Linked DNA regions of Homo sapiens: region 1 is linked to region 2. Evidence: promoter capture Hi-C in 16 types of primary human blood cells and fetal thymus (Javierre and others, 2016). All regions are on one chromosome and are shown on one strand. The core of a region is centred on a gene start or on the middle of the fragment in contact, and the rest is flanking DNA. Distances in the headings are between cores, read along the strand shown. Region 1 has its middle 34 kb from the start of METTL9. Region 2 holds the start of HS3ST2 (heparan sulfate-glucosamine 3-sulfotransferase 2).

The links. Contacts are between HindIII fragments. The CHiCAGO score rates a contact against its expected background, and 5 or more counts as called.
Region 1: a contact is called between a fragment that was not itself captured here and the fragment with the promoter of HS3ST2 in region 2, in 4 of 17 cell types (endothelial precursors, erythroblasts, M0 macrophages and 1 more). The highest score is 11.9, in endothelial precursors.

Annotation. Positions count from the first base shown.
Region 1 is chr16:21,564,605-21,567,304 of GRCh38, reverse strand. No RefSeq gene overlaps it. Among named protein-coding and RNA genes, the nearest start is that of METTL9, 34 kb to the left of the region's middle. The HindIII fragment of the contact is 1,772 bases long and covers 453-2,224 here.
Region 2 is chr16:22,812,873-22,815,572 of GRCh38, reverse strand. HS3ST2 (heparan sulfate-glucosamine 3-sulfotransferase 2) reads right to left here and starts at 1,411. Exons shown (of 2, transcript NM_006043.2): 1 at 478-1,411. The coding sequence starts at 962. LOC107984851 (collagen alpha-1(XVI) chain) reads left to right here and starts at 714. Exons shown (of 4, transcript XR_001752349.2): 1 at 714-866; 2 at 2,309-2,586. The HindIII fragment of the contact is 5,471 bases long and covers 1-2,700 here.

The DNA.
Region 1 (2,700 bases), core at 89-2,588, 1.2 Mb after region 2:
TGACCACAGAGGCCAGGGTCAAATGCTGGGCCACTCACCACATACTGATGATGCTGTCAAAATGTGGTTACCCTTCTGCTCCACCTCAATTATCTGTGGAAAACCTAATTTAAGGGGTATATGGTGTTTTGTCTGCCCGCATTTCTTCCTGTAAGAAACACGCTTTCCCCTCTTCCCTAGTAAACTGTCTCAGTCCTTACGAGTTGGTGGAGCTGGACTGCCTCACTTCCATCCCCAAGGTCAGGTACATGCCCAGATCTGGTCAGAGGACTTCATGTGTCAAGGTACAACTACTGCCTCAGCCATGAGCACTTGACTCATACAGTGCCCATTAGCGTCCACCTGGGGACTTTTTCTGTGCTACTGGAACAAAAGTGCATGTTTCCTCACCATCTTGGGCTGTTAGCCCTATGTGAACATGGAGGTATCTTGCTGCCATGCGATGAAAAGCTTATACACAACGCAGAGGGTAAGTCAGAGAAACTAGTTAATGACATAATTTGAGATCCAAATCTGCCTGACTTTTCAGCTACAGAAGCCAATAAATTCCCTTTTTTTTCTTTTTTTCTTTTTTTTTGAGACAGAGTCTCACTGTCGCCCAGGCTGGAGTACAGTGGCGTGATCTTGGCTCACTGCAACTTCCACCTCCCGGGTTCAAGTGATTCTTCTGCCTCAGCCTCCAGAGTAGCTGGGACTACAGGCGTGCACTACCATGCCTGGCTAATTTTTTGTATTTATAGTACAGGCAGGGTTTCACCGTGTTGCCCGGGCTGGTTTAGAACTTCTGACCTTAGGTGATCCACCCGCCTCGGCCTCCCAAAATGCTGGGATTATAGGCATGAGCCACTGTTCCCAGCCCGAATTCCTTTTTTATTTAAGCTAACCTGCATTGAATTTCTGTCACTTGTAGCCAAAGTGGTTTGAATAATGCACCTTTCCAATTGGCACTTGTGCCCAAATTACCATAAACTGGCTGTCTCTGACCACTCTAGGGAAAGGATTCAGTGATTTCTAATTGACCACTACCAGTGAAGACATGGGAGGTTTGAAATAGCTGAGCCCAGATTCTGAGAACGACAGGACAAGGTCATGATTGTACTTTTGAACTTGATGTTGGAGGTGTTCACAAGCATGACGCCTCTCCTGGACTTTGTTTACTGATAGGAACCACAAGATAGACGAGACAGCAGAATTAGGCCAACAATGGGTGCAAGGTGCCAAAAAGGTAATAGAAACCCAAGTTCCACTTTGAAGCAGCATAAATCAGACATTTCTCAAACATTAAAAACGGAAGTGGCCTGATCAAGACCTTTAAACGGAGTAAAAAGCCACGAAGCCAAGGCCTTGAGCAGCTAGTCAGAGAATTATTGCAATATGTGCTCAGAGACACAGGGTTTCATGAAAAGCCCAGTCTCTGCCTGGCTGCAGCACCTCTGTGCTTTTTGTCCCAGCATTTGCTTAGCAGCAGAACCTCATTATCCTTCAGTGTTCTGTAGTTATAACAGATTCCAGCTTCAGGGGGAAAAAAATGGATTCCAGCTGCCAGGGGTTCTCTCTGGGAGATTTTCTATCTCTGAGACGAAATTGTCTTTTTCTCCCTTTTTTCATGGTGAGAGGGGCATGGAGTACACCTCTGATAATCTGCAGAGGCAAAGCCTTGCATGAGCATGCTGACAACCCTGCAGAGAGAAAGCCTTAGGCTGGAAGTTCAAGGGCAGCCAGGAGAATGAACATTTCGATGAATAAAGCAATTTGATAACTACCATGTTGTGGTCTAAGACCCACCACTTACAGGCTTACATGGTGATTACTGAAGCTGCAACTATTTTAATGGCTTCATCTACTTTAAAGTACTGGTGATTTTTCTACTACTTCATTTAATTGCTTGATGTTTCTTGGAAGAGTTCTTCGGTCTTTCTGCTAAAATGTTATCCCAAGCTAGGAGAGATGCCATGATTTCAGAGAATTTCTTTTCCTCTATAATATTATATATTTTCCTCTGGGTTATCAATGAACCTACTGACTACTTTGAGTATTATGCCTTTAGGATGTCTTCACCTCTCATTTCCTTAACATTTTTAAATGAATCTCTGATAGAAAAATGAATCTGAAGCCTTGCTTATGCTTTGATTCATTCAACAAATATTTATTGCACACTTACTGTTTTAGATGCCTGGGATACAGAGTAAATAAATCAACAATGATCCTTGCCTTCAACAAAGCTTACATTCTGGTGGAGGCAAAGAGATAATACATAAATAAATTTAATATCATCTTTTGTAATAATAACCATTACACCTCTGCTTATGAAAAAAATTGCATTCAATTTTTGCTCACAATCTTCTTTTTTTTTTTTTTTTTTTTGAGACAGAGTCTCACTCTGCCACCTAGGCTGGAGTGCAGTGGCATAATCATACTTCACTGCAACCTCTGCCTCCTGGGCTCAAGTGACCCTCCTGCATCAGCCCCACAAGTAGCTGGGACTACAGATGCATGCCACAATGCCCAGCTAATTTTTCTATTTTTTGTAGAGATGGGATTTTGCCATGTTTCCCAGGCTGGTCTTGAACTCCTAGGCTCAAATGATCTGCCTACCTCGGCCTCCCAAAGTGCTGGGATTACAGGCACTGAGCCACTATGCTCAACTAATCTTCTGTTCCCTTCCTTCCTTCCTTTTCCTTCCTTCCTTCCTCTCTCTCT
Region 2 (2,700 bases), core at 162-2,661:
TTTGGCCTGAACTCTGGGGACCTTTCCCAAACAGAGCCTTGCTGCAAGGGGTCTCTGAACTGCCTTATCTTTCTCAGGGTCCTTCAGGGGCTGGGTACCAGCAAAGACCTACAGAGGGTTAGGATGGTGCCGTGTTCAGGCAGCACAGGTCCTCGCCTGTCCCTTCCTTGGGCACCCTAAGGGCTGGTCACAGAGGGAGTTAGCCCTTTAGCTGGCACTTAGGTTTGACTGGAGATAATCCTTTTCCAACGACTCCAGTGACGAGGGAACGCCCTTTGCAGTTCCAGAAACTGCCCGTCTAGATTATCACTGGGAAGTTCTGGGTAAATTCTGCTATAGCCCCCCATGGCCCTGTGTGTCAGCCTGAACCCATACAATGAGTTGGGTTAAAAGAAAGAGAAAACACAAGAGACGGATGGCTCTCCCAATGGAAGCGATCAGAGACCCGGCGCACGGAGCGGAGCTCCTGGTCCTTACCTGTACCAATCCAGCCCGCGGCCGTAGTTCCTGTCAAAGAAGTGGGGTTCCGTGCCCAAGGCCCGCACGTCCGGGTGTACTCGGATAAACTCCAGCACGGCCCGGGTGCCCCCCTTCTTCACGCCCACAATGAGGGCTTGGGGCAACCGCTTGGTACCCAGCTTGGGTGAGCCGGAGTGGTTGGAACCGGAGAGGCGAGGGGCGGGCACGGCGGCGGCGGGCGCGCTGGGAGCGCTGGGCTCGCTGGGCGTCGGCCCGGAGGGATCACAGGGGCGGGACTTCTGGAGAAGTTTCTGGCCGCCCGCGCTGGGGCCGCGGAGGCAGCGAGGCGCGCCGAGGAGGCGGCTCCGACCCAGGTCGTCGCAGCAGCACAGGAAGCTGTAACACAGGTAAGTGCAGGAGAGCGAGAGCGTGAAGGCGAAGAGCAGCCTGCGCGCCCTCCGCGGCTGAGGTGGCCCCGCGCGGCCCAGGACCCTATAGGCCATGGCTCCATGGGCCCGCGCCGGGGGTCATGGTTTCCGAGGGGGCACCGGCGGCTGAGCTGCTGTGGCCCTGCGGTCGCCTAGAGGGCTCGCGTGGCGCTGCCACGGCCACGCGGGTCGGGCGTTGGGGGCGCCGTCTTCTCCGGGGGCTGCTGACCAGGGTGCGCACAGTGCCAGGGGGTCCCGGGGGCAGCGGCTCCTCGGGGAACAGGCGGTTGCATTTCCAGCATCTCCCGGTCCTAGGCGATGGGGCTCCGGGCAGCCGGGCGGCTCGGGCGCTCCCAGGCTCTTACGTGCGCCGGGTTCGGAGCGCGCCCAGCGCCCGAAGCCCCATTCCTGATCCTCGGAGCGCCGCTCACGAAACGCTCGGCGGCGGCGCGGCTGTGCGGGCTGGCGGGTGGACCGGACGGTGGCGCTGGCGCCGGCCGCGATCTGGCTCTTCGGGAAATGCCGAGCGGAGCGCGCTGCCGGCTCTATTTAAGGAGTGGCCTGACGTCAGCCGCGCGGGTCCCCCGAGCCCGCGCCGCGCCCAGGGACCTGGCCCGCCCCCTGCGCCCCCACTCTCTTACCCCTCCCAGAAACACAGCACGCGGGCCCTCCCCATGCAGGCCACTCCCTACGGAGCCCCAGGCCAGCTTTGGGGCGGTGAAACGAAGGTGTCAAGGCATAGTACTCCTCCGGGAGGCTGGACACCCCCACCACGCTGGCCTCTCGACATCCAGGGACACGAATCCAGGTCGAGATCGCGCCGACATGCAGACCAGACAGACCCAGACGCAGACGCAGGCACCCTGCCCTGATGCGCGGTCCCACCACCCTGACCCGCACACGCACGCACAGGCACAGAAGCACACGCGCCCTAGCCCGGACACACCCCCACACCCACGCGGGGGTGGGGAGGAGAAGTCCCCTAACCTGGGCCCAGATACACCGACAAGGACACTCCCCCCGCTCTCGACATCTCGCCAAATGGACACACACAGCCCGGAATCGGACACCGAGCGCACGCACGCCCTGGACTGGGACACGCGCTGTAGACGGGATGGGTGGAGGAGCCGAGCGTGAGTGAGATTCCGTGACTATTCACCCAGCTTCTTAGCCCCCAGCGCGCTGACTCACACCCCGGCGGCTCGCTCTGTCTCGCACCTATGAGGCACGCGCGCACCCCAACCCATTGTCACCCCACCTCTCCCCGGGCCTGCCGGAGAGCGAGCCCCGGAGCGGCAGACTCCGCGTCAGGAGGGTTCCTCTCTTAGCAGCCGCCGCCTAGCGGTAGACTGCTCCCCGGGGAGCTGTCCAGGGTACCAGAGGGTCGCCGAGGGCTGAGTGAGGAGGGCTTCTTCACACAGAGACACTAGGAGGAGGAAACAGAGTACAAGGAGAACGTATCCAGGAGCAATTCCACTTCGAATGATTCCTAAGTGAATGCCTACAGGACAGTTCTCGGTGACCATGTCCAGAACAGGCATAAGTGACGATCCCCAGTACTTCCCTGAGGGACCACACTGGTACCTTGGATCAGAACCCTGCATCAGAACAGGCCTAAATGGCCATGGCTAAGAACACGGCTGAGTTGTCCTTCAACAGCAATGCCAATGCCAATTCACCATGTCCGAGTGTTCACAAGGTGAGTGCCCTCCACCACCACCCAGCCATAGAATGTCTAGATGACCACCATGACCCCCACCCTGATCAGGGTATAACTGACTTCCTTCCTCAGGCTGTAAACTGATCATTAGGT